2 separate regions of the Homo sapiens genome follow, and region 2 is linked to region 1. The links are contacts of gene promoters, found by promoter capture Hi-C in blood cells and fetal thymus (Javierre and others, 2016). All regions are on one chromosome and are shown on one strand. The core of a region is centred on a gene start or on the middle of the fragment in contact, and the rest is flanking DNA. Distances in the headings are between cores, read along the strand shown. Region 1 holds the start of GRHL1 (grainyhead like transcription factor 1). Region 2 holds the start of LOC105373421 (a long non-coding RNA gene).

Region 1 (6,892 bases), core at 4,393-6,892:
TCCCTCGGAATTGTGCGGAACTGAGTCAAGTAAAGGCAGAGCCACTTGCGATGAGTGGCTTCACGAAGGACAGCGGAGGTGCTTGGGGAGTCCTCCTACTGGGATGGGAAGGGTTCCTGGAAGAGCTGGCATTTGAAGTTGGCCACTAAAGATGTAACTTGGGTGGCAAGGGAGAGAGGAAAAGCACAGGCAATGCCAGGTGCCTGAGATTCAGGACGCGCTCAGAGAACTCTGTGACAGGGGTGCAGTGACTCTACTGAGATCACCCTGCTGGTCAATAGAAGAACCTGGACTAGAACCCAGGTCTTGTAACTCTAAATCTACTAGCCACCTCCCAACCCCACTCAATGCACCCATGAGCCTGTTAGTACCGTACCATATGGTCTCCAATGGGAGCGGGGGTCCCAAATTAGTTCTCTACTCTGAAACTCATGGCTTGGGAAGGTACCTTCAAAGATCCTCTTTCTTTGAAAAAACACTACCTTTGAGTTTAAAAAGATTATTGCCAAACAAATAAAAAGATGAAAAACCTCACTCATAACTTAAAAAAAAAAGCAATTCAAAACAACGAGATCCCATTTTTCATCGAATAGACTAGCCAAGCAAACTTCAATGTTGCCCACGGTTGTCTAGGGTGCGGCACGGTAGGCAGTCTGATATTCTGTGGTAGGAATCTAAATAAGAGCAGCCTTTTGGAAAACAATCCGGCAAGAGCCAGGAAAATGGCAGCTGCAGGCCAGGTGCGGTGGCAGTGGCTCATGCCTGTAATCCCAGCACTCTGGGAGGCCGAGATGGGTGGATCACCTGAGGTCAGGAGTGTGAGACCAGCCTGGCTAACATGGCAAAACACCATCTCTACTAATAATACAAAAATTAGCCGGGTGTGGTGGCAGGTACTGGTAATCCCAGCTACTCTGGAGGCTGAGGCTTGAGAATCACTTGAACCCGGGACGTGGAGGTTGCAGTGAGCAGAGATTGCATCACTGCATTCCAGCCTGGGCAACAAGAGCCAAACTCCATCTCAAAAAACAAACAAACAAAAAACCAAATGGCAGCTGTGCATTCCCTTTTCTCAGTAACTCCGATTCTAGGAATTTATCCTATGGCAATACCTGATCAAGTGTGCAAAAATGTAGTTAGAGGAATGTGTTATTGTGAATGTTTGTAATTAAGAAAAGCTAGGGGAAAAAACCCTAATTGCTCACCAATACATTCAAGTTATCATATAGCCATTCAAGGAAACACCATACAGCCATTTTTTAAAGTGAACTAGATTTCTATGTGCTGATGTGGAAAATGTTTAAACCATAGAAAGGAAAAACAAGCAAGCTGTGGAAGATTGTGCAGTCCGAATCCCATTTGTCTAAGAAAATAAACCATGTGAGTGCTTGTACAGACAGAAGATATCTGGAAAGATCAACACAAATTGTTCACAGTGGTTGTCTCAAGGATTAGGGGCTGGGAATGGAGGAGGCCAGGGACTGCATTCTGTATCCTTCTGCAGAGCTTCAATTTCTTCCTTTCTCCTTTCTTTGTCCCGTTCCTAATCCCTTTCTATCTTTTTTTATTTTTGAGATGGAGTCTTGTTGTCACCCAGGCTGGAGTGCAGTGGCGCGATCTTGGCTCACTGCAACCTCCGCCTTCTGGGTTCAAGCGATTCTCCTGCCTCAGCCTCCCGAGTAGCTGGGAATACAGATACCCACCACCATGCCCGGCTAATTTTTGTATTTTTGTTAGAGATGGGGTTTCACCATGTTGGCCAGGCTGGTCTCAAACCCCTGACCTCAGGTGATCTGCCCACATCGGCCTCCCAAAGCTCTGGGATTACAGGCGTGAGCCAGCACGCCCAGCATTTTTTCTTCCATAAAAACTATGTGCATATATTACTTTAATAATTTAAACAAATAGTAAAGAACTTAAAAATGAAGAGGGTAGGCCAGGCATGGTGGTTCACATCTGTAATCCCAGCACTTTGGGAGGCTGGGAGGATGGGAGGATCGTTGGAGCACAGGAGTTCAAGACCAGCCTGGGCAATATGGTGAGACCCTGTCTCTACAAAACATACACACACACACACATACACACTAGCCAGGTGTGGTGGTGTGCACGTGTAGCCCCAGCTACTCAGGAGGCTGAGGTGGGAGAATCACTTGAGCCTGGGAAGTCAAGGCTGCGGTGAGCTGTGATGGTGCCACTGCACTCCAGCCTGAGTAACACAGTGAGACCCTGTCTCAGATAAAATAAAATGAAATAAACAGGGTTCATGGCAACAGGTCATAGATAGAGATTTTCATTTCTGTTTTAGAGAGCTATTAGAGACAAACTAAACAATCCCATATTCAAATTGACAAAATAGACCCAATGTTTTTAATTACTACAGCTATGGTCTAATAACCTCAGGCTCTTCCTGTTCTTGTTTTTGGCTTTATGATTGGATATTTCTTCATTCATCCCCTATTTATTTTGTGCCTACCATGTATTAGGCTCAAGGACTTTCATCTTCTGCAACGGTGGGGGGGGTCATTTAAAAGAGCCCTAGCTATGCTACAGAAGGGAGGAGACTGGGCGCAGAACGCATGCCTGCAGAGGACTGCATCCATTCAGTAGACATTTGCTGGATATTTTCTATGTATATACCAGGCACCAGGAACATAAAAATGAAGGTGGTACAACCGCTGCCCTCTCTGGAAAAGCTCACACTTGGTGGAGACAGACACAAACAGGAAAGCCCATAAGACAAACATGGTGATGGGCAATGCAGAAGGCGCTGTGGATCCCACAGGACACCTTGTCCAGCCTAGAGGGTTGGGAAGGCCACCTGGAGGAAATGAGCCAGGCTGGAAGTTGAGTGGAGTGGGCCAAGCATGGAGGGAAGGAGCAGGGAATGCGGGGACGGTGCTTGGGAGTGAGCAGTAAGGGAAGTGCTGGGCCGCCAAGGGGAGGCTGAGCTCAGGAGTGTGGACTTTATGGTGAGTATAACTGAGTGACAAGAAATCTGTGTTTTATAAAGGCCACTCCAGTGGCAGTGTGGAGCCGGGTCAGAGGAAATAGAAGAAAGGCAGGTAGAGGGACACTGTTCCCAAGTCAGTCACTTTGGCACCACCCTGATGACTTGTACCCTATTTGGGACCATCTGTGCTGTTATTGACTAGCATTTTTCTTAAATTAGCGTGCTTAGAAAACATAATTGATTTGGCAGGGCGCGGTGACTCATGCCTGTAATCCCAGCACTTTGAGAGGCCGAGGCGGGCAGATTGCCTGAGGTCAGGAGTTTGAGACCTGCCTGGTCAACTTAGTGAAACCCCATCTCTACTAAAAATAGAAAAATTAGCCGAGCGTGGTGGTGGGCGCCTGTGATCCTAGCTACTTGGGAGGCTGAGGCAGGAGAGTCGCTTGAACCCAGGAGGCAGAGGTTGCAGTAAGCTGAGATCACGGCACTGCACTCCAGCCTGGGCAACAGAGGGAGATTCCGCCTCAAAAAAAAAAAAAAAAAAAAAAAGGAAAAGAAAAAAATAATAAATGATTTAAACAGGAAACTAGTGGTAAGAACAAACAACAGGCTGCATGGATCCAGTGCTGGGCCCGGGGTCAGAGGACAGAAACTGCGAAGGGCGGTCTCAAGTGAGGCTGCCGATTCCGGTCCCTGAAGGCCTTGGACCAGGGCACAGAGGAGGGACTGCTGGCTGCAGGAGGGCCCTGTGACCTCATGCTGCTCCTCACTTCACCTCCTTCCCTTGGCTTCCACGCTTCCATTGCTTCCGACCTCGGTGTCCCCGTCTTCTGTCTCCTCCACTGGCTCTTCCTCCCAGCCTTTCTGTGTCGGAGGCTCCTGGATCCAGCATGGGTCCCATCCTCTTTCCTTCCTGCCTTCTCATGGCTTTAAATGGCCTCTAGACGTGGGCGGCGCCCAGATGTGAGCTTCAGCCCAGACTTCTCCCTTGCACTCCAGCCTCGTACCCAGGAGCCCACCTGATTCATGGATTTTTATCTCCCATACATCTTGAGCTTAGCACGTCCAAAACAGACTCTCGTTCTCCCCCAAATCTTCTATGCCCCAGGTCTTCTGTATCCCAGGGGATGGCAAATCATTCCTCCAGTTGCCCAGCTGGAAACGCTGTAGTCATCCTTGATTCTCTCTTTCTCTCACACCCCATATCCAATTTTCAGACAATCCTGCTGGTCCCACCTTCAAAGCATATCCAGAATTCGGCCACTTCCCACCACCTCACTCTATTGCCCTCGGCCTGCATCATGGCAATGGCCTCCTACCTGGTCCCCACCACGCAGCAGCAGAGAACTATTTTAAAATGTGAGACCCTGTCACTACCCTGCTCCAAGCCCCTCCAAGGCGTCCCCACCTAGCCCAGAGGGAAAGCCACAGTCCTTACGGAAGCCGGCAAGGCCCTGCTCAATCCGCTCCCCTGCGCCCACTATCTCTGACCGCAGCTCCCGCCTCCCTGTGCCCCACCAGCCACCCGGGTCTCCTCAAGGGTCACAAAACACACCAGGGTCCCTGCCTCAGGTACAGTCCCACCTTCGTGGCCCCTCATCTCCTTCAAGCCTGAAAGCCTCGCTCCTCCCCGCCTCCCCAGGGCCTGCCTGCTTTACCTTCCAACCAGCCACACCATTTACTTGTTTTTGTATTGCCCGTTACCCCAACTAGGAAGGCGAGGAGTTGTGTCTGTTCTGTTGACTGCCCTGTCCCCGGCGTCTGGGGCCGCGCCTGTCCGAGGGTCAGGTCCGACGCTGGGCATGTGGGGACTCAGTGAGCGGACCCTGGGAAAGACGGCAGCTCGGGAAGGACAAGTGGGGGCCGTCGCGGTGGAGTGGTGCCCGGGGCCGGCCCGGGGCGCGCGACTGCACGGGCAGCGTGGGGCGGCCGCGCGGGGAAGTGGCGCCCGGGAGGCTGCGGGGCACAGACATCGCGGAGCCCCAGGGACTGCCGCCGAGGGGACCGCGGGAGCTGCGAGGGCAAGAAATCCTAAAAGCGCGCGGCCGCGGTGGGCCAGGAGAAGGGACATTCCGGAGACGGCTCTCGGGGGAAGCCACGGGACTCGGGCGTGACAGCCTGCGAGAACCGAGAGGTGAGACGCGCGACCGGGGAGCGCGGCGACCGGCAGAGGCGCCCCCGCCGGGCGAGCGCAGGGGCAGCGCGGGGCGCTGGGGCCGGAACAGCGGGCAATGTGGGCACGGGGCGCGGAGGCCTGAGTGAGCGAAGAAGGAGGCGGCTGTACGGCCGGGGCTCGTCGCGAAGGGGATGGCCGGGGACGGCGGGGACGGCGGGGGCGGCGGGGGCGGTGGCGGGGCGCGAGCGGGGGCGCTCTCGGTGCGCGCGGAGGTTGGCGGGTGCGCGCCGCAGCCGCAGCGCTCCCTCTCCTGTCAGGGCAGGCGCGTACGGCCGCGAGTCGGGCGCGCAGCCCCGGGAGCGCAGTCCCGGGCGCAACCTCGCGGAACGCGCGGCCCCCGCCCCCCGCCCCGCGCCGCTCGTCCCCGTCAGCCCCGCCCCGGCGCTCTTCTCGCCGACCAATCAGGAGGCGCGACCGGCCTCCCAGCCCCGAGGCCTCGCCCCCAGCCGGCGCATCGCCAGCCAATGAGCGGCCGAGCCCGGCGCCCAGTGCGCGCAGCCCGCGCGGAGCCGGCTCAGAGCGAGAAAAGCAAACCCAACCCGTCGGGGCCGCCGCTCCGGACCCGCAGCCGCCGCCGCCGCCTCCTCCCCCCGGATCGGGTGTACTGTCCCAACCCGAAAGTCCAGTTCTGCGGCCCGGCAGCGGCGAGCGGGCGCGATGACACAGGAGTACGACAAGTGAGTGAGGCGCAGGAGTCCGGCCGCCGCGGGGGGGCCGCGCTGAGGGGCCGCACCTGCAGCGAGCGAGCCGGGCGCAGACCCGAGGCCGCGCGGGCGGGCGGGCGCGGGGCGCGAGCCGGGGGCCGCTGTCCACTCCACGCCGCCACGGCCTTTGCCCCTTAGCCCTGCCGTGCTCTTTGTTCGGTCGGAGCCTCGGGAGGAGAGACCCTGTCCTCGGGGAAACTCGACACCGGAGGGGCCACCCTCCTCCCCTCCTCCGCGGCCAGGTTGGGTCCCCTCGGGCGCGCACCTTGGGGTCCGGGCCCCCGGCGCGGTCGGGTGCGGCGCGAGGTCGGGGCGCAGCCAACGCCCCCGGGCCTCCCCGCCCCCCTCTCCTGCCCGGTCGGCCTCGGGAGCCTGGTGGGGCTCGCGCCGCGTCGGGACAGGTGGACTTCTCCAGGTAATCTGTGGTCTCAGGCTCGTCACTCGGCGACCTGCTGGAACCTCCAAAACAGAAATGTAGGGAAAGGTTGAAGTGCCCCGATGTCCGGGCGTTTTCTTTTCCCTGGCTGGCGGCATGAGTGGGAAAACGGCTGTAGGAGTTATTTTGCCACTTGCATCATTGATGGTAATTACAGATTACCGTGTTTTTAGTGCTCGAGAGAATCAAGAGGATGAAACTTTGAAATCCGGGTGTTAAACGAGAAAGTACTGTACAAGCTAATATGCTTTTTAGAGTGTGTGATTTAAAAGCGTATTTCGACAAATGTGAGGTGGTAGTGTAATAAGGCATGGGGGATTAACTGGGCGAGGGAGTTTTCTGTATTTTCTTTGCAGCTTTTCTGAAAATATAAAATTGTCCTAAAAATTTTAAAAACTTACTAAAGAAAAAACAGGGAAATCGCACCAGGCCAGTCAGTATATTTCAGATCAGGAAGTTTAAGGCAGATAGGTACCCCTCCCAGTTTCTTAGTTATTTGTGAAGGATCGGTTTTTGTCAGTGTGTTCTTTTTCTGGATGAGATAGATATTTTGTATGGAGTATCTTAAATGGATTACTCTTATGTTGTAGAATATGCAGTTAAATTATTGCCTGAAACATATTTCA
Region 2 (6,892 bases), core at 1,170-3,669, 140 kb before region 1:
GGCCTGGGTGGGTTTATGTTACCACTCCGTGGGAAACTGTCCAACTGTGTTTTTATTTCAGAATTCCCATCCCTGCTTTTCACAACAGGCATACAAATCTCTCTCCTGGGCTAGGGGATGGTCACAGTGCTCTCTCTCTCTTCCCCTTTCCTCATCTCCCCTCATCATGCACTTATGGTAAAAAACAAAACAGGCCGGGCGCGTTGTCTCACGCCTATAATCCCAGCACTTTGGGAGGCCAAGGCGGGCAGATCACGAGGTCAGGAGACCATCCTGACCAACATGATGAAACCCCGTCTCTACTAAAAATACAAAAATTTGCTGGGCATGGTGGCACATGCCTGTAATCCCAGCTACTGGGGAGGCTGAGGCAGGAGAATCGCTTGAACCCAGGAGACGGGGGTTGCAGTGAGCCGAGATTGTGCCATTGCACTCCAGCCTGGCGACAGAGCAAGACTCCAAAAAAAAAAACAAAACCCTAACCTGATCAATAAGCCAAAAAAGAACTGAATTCTCACGTGGACTCCCCTACGTATACCTATCCTATACCTATGAGGTATGACCTTAGCAGATTAACCTCTCGATTTCCTCTTCTGTTAACTATGCATACTTCACTGGGTTGTTGTTTGCTTGTTTGTTTGTTTGTTTTTATGAGATGGGGTCTCGCTCTGTCGGCCAGGCTAGCGTGCAGTGGTGTGATCTCCGCTCACTGCAACCTCCGCCTCCTGAGTTCAAACATTTCTCCAGCCTCAGCCTCCCGAGTAGCTGGGATTACAGGCACGTGCACCACGCCTGGCTGATTTTTGTATTTTTAGTAGAGATGGGGTTTCATTATGTTGGCCAAGCTGCCCTAGAACTCCTGACCTCAGGTTATCCACCTGCCTCAGCCTCCCAAAGTGCTGGGATTACAGGCCTGAGCCATCGTGCCTAGCCTGGATTTTTATGAGAACTACATGAATCCAGGTTGGTTTATACTTTTCTAATTGGGGAGAAATTCCCTTGAGAAAATTCAGAAACACATTGAAGATTTTGGAGCCACAGGATAAACACGTTTCTTCATGTTGAAGTGGCAAAGATTTGAAGAAATCATACTGTATTTCCTGTTAAAGCAAACATGACTCAGAATAGAGAATAATGCAGAAATGCAAGAATTTTTAAGCTAAAACTCAGGACTGGAAAGAAACGTCAAGCTTGGAACTCGTAGTGCCAGGCTCTGCCCCTCATCTCACCAAAGCTCAGTTTCTCCCCCGTTCAGGGTTGAATTGTGCCCCCCAAAAAGAGATGTTTTTGTCCTGACCCCAGTACTTGTGAAGGTGAACCTATTTGGAAACTGAATCTTTGCAGAGTAATCAAGTTCAGATGAGGCCATTAGGACGGACTGTCATCCAATACAACTGTCCTTATAAGAGGAAGACAATGGTACATGAGGACAGTGACACACAGGGAGACGCCTCGTGGGGACAGGCAGAGGCCGAGGCACTGCCGCTGCAGGCCAGGACACCGGGGGCTCCCGGCCAGGCCAGCGGCTGGAAAGGCAGGCAGGATTCTGCCCAGAATATCAGAGGGCCTGGCCCTGCCCCTGTCTTGATTTTGGACCTCCTGGCTCCCAAACTGTGAGGGAGTAAATGGCGGAGTCTCAGCCACCCCAGTCTGTGCTCTGTGGCAGTGGCGCAGTATCACACACTCCCTGACTGGGAAAAGGGTGGGAAGTCCTGCAGCTGGCCAGAGAGAACCGGCAGACCCGTTTCAGTCCTGTTATCCTGCCCCGGCGGCCGGGCCAGTTCCCCCCGGGAGCCCCGGTGTCCCCCTCCTGTGTGTCCTGCTGGTTCCCGGCAGATGCTCCGGGCGCCACTGCTCTGTTAGCCGCTGTTGGCCTCCTCCTGTCACATGTTTATGCTTGTAGTAGCAGAATCCAAATCCGGGCCATTATCGCAGGTGGCGGGCCTTAACCTGGCAAGCCTGTGAACCCTTCCCAGTGCTGCCCTGGAGAAGGGCTGGCCGCTCAGGCCCTCACAGCCTGAGAGCTCGGAGAAGCTGCCCCCAGACTCTCAGGGCCCTGTGCCTGCCCCAGCCACTTGGGCCTGAAATTAGCGAGGGGCCACACATAGGGGCCCAGACCAGACCCCAGAGAAGTCCCCTGCCCCTGACTTTCCACACATGGCAGCAGTGAGGTGTCTGCTCCCTGGCTAGGGCAGCATTGTTGAGCCCCCACTGGAGCTGGGCGTCTCCCTGCTCTCAAACAAACCAACTGTGCACAGTGGGGCAGGGACGGTTTCCTAGAGGAAGTGGGGCTTAGGCTGACTCAGGGAAGGGCAGTTTCACTGATAGGATCTGTTTACCCGCCTGACTTCTCCAGCATCACCATAAGCTCACAGGGCTGGAACGGATTCAGGTCGCCCAGGCCCAGGGCATGGGAATTGGAAAACGTTTGTTGAGGTGAATCAAAGCTAGATGGAAGGCCAGGCACGGTGGCTCATGCCTGTAATCCCAGCACTTTGGGACACAGAGGTGGGCGGATCACTTGAGGTCAGGAGTTCGAGACCAGCCTGGCCAACATGGTGAAACCCCGTCTCTACTAAAAATACAAAAACTAGCTGGGCGTGGTGGCGGGCACTTGTAATTCCAACTACTCAGGAGACTGAGGCAGGAGAATCACTTGAACCCGGGAGGCAGAGGTTGCGGTGAGCCCAGATGGCACCATTGCACTCCAGCCTGGGCGACAAGAGTGAAACTCCATCTCAGAAAAAGGAAGAAGAAGAAGAGGAAGAGGAGGAAGACGAGGAGGAAGAGGAAGAAGAAGAAGAAGAAAGAAGAAGCTGAAGAAGCTGGTTGGGAAGAAAGGGAATGCGATTCTATGAGGCTGGAGCCAAGACGAGCTGAAGAAGCTGGTTGGGAAGAAAGGGAAGGCGATTCTATGAGGCTGGAGCCAAGACGAGCACTGGAGCAGAGGTTCAGCACAGCGTCCAGGGAACAGACAGTGCTGTGGGGGGAGCGTGGGGGAGGAGGGGGTGGCAAGGACCCCTGTCCACCATCCTGGTGGGGGCCCAAAGGTGCTTTCAGTGTCCTATCACTGCCATGGCTGCTGGCAGAAAGTCCTGGCAATGATCTCGCACGTCTGGGGCTCAGGAAGGGAAGCCCACCCGCCCACAGGAAAGGGATGCCTGAGTGGCCTGGCCAAACTCTGCCCACATCTCCTCTCTGGCAGGACGCATGCTACCCAGGCCCAGTCCCGATCCCAGGACAGCACCCACAGGAAGGCTGCCAGTGGTTCTCCTGGAAGCAAAGACTCCAGCTGCCTGGCTTCTCCCTTCCCCAGGGACGCCTCCATCCCAAGCTCTGGCCAACAGGCTGCCCAGGCTCCCTGGGAACCCCTGGGTGCCGTGGCGAGTGGGGGCTGTGGTCTCACCCCCGGGCACGCCCTTCCTCCAAAGGCCTGGCCAGTCCCAGTGCATCCTGTGCTGAAACTCCCAGGGGATGGGGTTGGGACAGCCCAGCAGGTTCCAGAATGCTCTCTCCTCTGTCCACCCTGAGTTAGAAGTCTGTGTGGAGGCCCAAAGGTACTTTAAGTGCCCCAGCACTGCCATGGCCTGGGAAGCCAGGACACACAGGCTGAAAGAGTGAGGTCTTCCCATCAGAGACCCTGAGCCCCGAAGCTTTGGAATCAGCAGCGTTCAGCGCGATGGAGGCGCGGTGCCACCAGGTGGCGCCGTCAACCCCTCACTTAGGGCTAAGCGCCCTGGCCCCTCTGGATGAACCAGCAAGGGCGGAGGGGGACACCGGAGAGCGAGACGGCCTCGCTAAAGAAGGCCCCCTGGCCTTTCAGGATGAGGGGCTCAGTCAGCCCAGTGATGGGGACTCCGTGAGAACTGAGCTGTGAAAACGTGTTGGAGGCACAGTACCCACCTCTGCCGCGTCTGAACCCAGATTTGCCAGGAAGGCTCTTGCTTTCTCAATCTCTGTTCCCCGGTCATCACGAATACCCTGTGCTGGTCACTTTGTGCATCCCCATTTTTTTTTTCTTCCAAGGATACGGTCACGTGGGCAGAGCTGCAGAGACAGGATCCTAGACAGGCAGGCCTTGAATGCCAGGGCAGGAGATTGCTGAGGATTCAGAAGATCTCGGGAAGCTTCTTAAAGGCCCTCGACCCCTCTCGCTACCTATGAGGGCAGGACTGGAGAGGAGAAGGGAGAAGGCCGGAGACCAGGGGCAGCCCCCATAGGAAGCAGACTCCAGCCGCCTGGCCTCTCCCTTCCCCAGGGACGCCTCAGTGCGGGGTAGGCGCTACGGGAGACCAGGGAAGGGGCTGCTGCAATATTCGAGGTGAGAGTGTCCTGCACTGAAGCATGGTACAAAGAGGTGGGCTGGAGAGGGACGGTTCCAAGAGCAGCTGGCCACCGTCTGCTGCCCTGGCGTGCCCGCCCATTGTCCTCACTGTCTGCCACACCCTCCCTAGCAGGCCATACAAGGACATGTCCTCCCAATGTCCTGTCCCCCGGCCTCAGGCTCAGTCTTTCAGAATTGGCCTCCCTAATCCCATTCCGTCCAGGCTCTGCTAAGAGACAGCCAGGGAAGCTTGCAGGTGAATGTGCGTCTATGAGCAGGCGTTGTGCATGCAAACAGCCCTGCTTGGTGACGCTGAGCATTTTAACAGGAGCCCTCAGCAAGCAAACTCTTAGTCAAGGGGGTGACCCCTAGTGACATTTCAGGCTTTGGGGAGACCAAATCTAGAAGTCTTCTGAAGTCCCTGAAATCAGAGAAATGGGACCATTCTAATAACCAGAAAAATCAGCTTCCTTTGACCCTAGGCGTCTTCTCAGGTCCCCAAGGACAATCTCCTGCTTAATGCACATGACATCATGTTGACCCATTGGCCCAGGGTTAGCCTTCAGCTCTGCCCCCACCCTAGATCCTACTATAGCTGGAAGGTGGCGACCATTTGAACGTGGGACAAGGGACCATTTCTCCCTAGCAAGATGAAGTCACTTACCCAAGCCTTTGTGACAAGTCCGCATCAGAGCCAGCCCAGAGCTGCATCTCTTCCAGCCCTAAGACTGATGAGATAGATAGATAGATATTTGCCTTCAGAACAGGAAGGCTTTTTGTTAATGACTTTTTGTTAATGTTTCAGGGAGAGGAGCAGAGGAGCTCAGTCCAGTATGATTGGCATTTGGTGAAACCTAGTGGTGCAAATGTTCTGATTGGGATGTAACTAACACTCATCCATCTAACCCCTCTAATGTAATCCAGAGTCAATGCACCGTCTCGAGTCTCCCTCTCTCTTCAACACCCCACCCACCTCGCGTCAATATGGAAATACCGTCATTAAAGATAATTACCGAAGGAACAAGCCCCCTGGAGAGTACAACCATGAGGATAACATGCAAAAAGAAAAACTTAAAGCTCTCCATGAAAATTTACTAAGCTAAGGCAACAGAACCTTCTAATGAGTCCAGGTGCGGGCACCATGAGGTCTGTGTGAGGAAGGTCTGGTGACCTCTAAAAAGGACAGCTGTGGAAGAGGCTCAGGCAGGAATGGCGGATCCACTGTCGGCCTCACTGTCGGCCTCGCCCGGGAATCCGTCTTCATCTTTTCCCTTCTCATGAAGCTGTCTGTTGCCAGGCTGGCTATGGGGCTGCCTTATCCACACAGGAAGCTCACTTTTTGAGAAGGCAGCTGAGCCACGTGATGTCAGACGGAGCAGGGACTTCTGTTTGTCAGTGTCAACCATCTGGGAGCCAAAGGTGTTTCCACAACCACAAGAACCGGTTGAGATATTTTACTTGGATCTCTGGGCATTGCACACATCTGCGTTCCAGCAAGTGACCTCCACGCATGGAGGCAGCGGAGAGGAAGGGAGCTAGCTCCAGGAGCCGCAAAGCTCAGCACATTGGCTACAACACAGCCGGCCGATGACTCTAACGCCAAGAAGGAACTCTGGAAGAGAGGAGATCGTGGTTTATGACTCTCTGTGTCCTCCACACAGACAGCAAAGCACCAACAAAGGATAAAAAAAAAAAGAAAGAAAGAAAGAAAGAGAAAAACCAATACAACATTGATGAATTACGACTCCTTAACATACTCTGTATCCTGTGAGAGAAGTTAATATTCTCCCATTCTCATTGATGAAAATCAGAGGCAGGAAGAGGCCCAGAGGTTTAACCACACTGGGATGTTTCTCTGTGTGTGCGTGTGTGTGTGTGTGTGTGTGTGTGTGTGTGTGTGTGTGACAGAGAGAGAGAGAGACAGAGAGACAGAGTCTTGCTCTGCTACTCAACTCACTGCAACCTCCACCTCCTGGGTTCAAGCAATTCTCCTGCCTCAGCCTCTCAAGTAGTTGGGATTACAGGCGCCAGCTGCCATGCCTGGCTAATTTTTTTTTTTTTTTTGTATTTTTAGTAGAGATGGGGTTTCATTATGTTGGCCAGGCTGGTCTCGAACTCCTGACCTCAAGTGATCTGCCCACCTCGGCCTCCCAAAGTGCTGGGATTACAGGCCTGAGCCACCATGCCTGGCCAGATGTTTCTTAAGGACAGCTTGCCCATGTCCAATCCACAGGGGCCTATAGTCCTACACACTAGTCTGGACTATTCCTAAAATCCACCAGTCACTTTGCGGCCTGCAGATCTTGCCCGTGGACTCCCTCTCCCCGACATTTCTTTTCCTTTTCTCCCCCAGTACAGTCCTGGTCCTGATCATTGTTTATAGGCTTTTATTTTTATTTTTGAGACGGGGTCTTACTCTGTTGCCCAGGCTGTAGTGCAGTGGCGCGATCACAACTCACTGTACCTCCTGGGCTCAAGCAATCCTCCCACCTCAGCCTCCCAAGTAGTTAGGACTACAGGCAAACATCGTCGTGCCTGGCTAATTTTTAAATTTTTTGTGTAGCTGGT

The links. The method cuts DNA at HindIII sites, captures the fragments that hold promoters and counts their contacts. A CHiCAGO score of 5 or more calls a contact.
Region 2: a fragment that was not itself captured here is called in contact with the fragment with the promoter of GRHL1 in region 1 in 1 of 17 cell types (endothelial precursors); the score reaches 5.5 in endothelial precursors.

Annotation. Positions count from the first base shown.
Region 1 is chr2:9,946,051-9,952,942 of GRCh38, forward strand. It overlaps GRHL1 (grainyhead like transcription factor 1), which reads left to right and starts at 5,643. Exons shown (of 16, transcript NM_198182.3): 1 at 5,643-5,803. The coding sequence starts at 5,784. LOC105373422 (a long non-coding RNA gene) reads right to left here and starts at 4,803. Exons shown (of 3, transcript XR_922784.4): 1 at 4,655-4,803. RefSeq lists silencers at 4,874-4,953, 5,104-5,153, 5,254-5,303, 5,394-5,933. The HindIII fragment of the contact is 14,804 bases long and covers 1-6,892 here.
Region 2 is chr2:9,810,317-9,817,208 of GRCh38, forward strand. LOC105373421 (a long non-coding RNA gene) reads right to left here and starts at 4,401. Exons shown (of 3, transcript XR_007086206.1): 1 at 3,904-4,401. The HindIII fragment of the contact is 2,463 bases long and covers 1,189-3,651 here.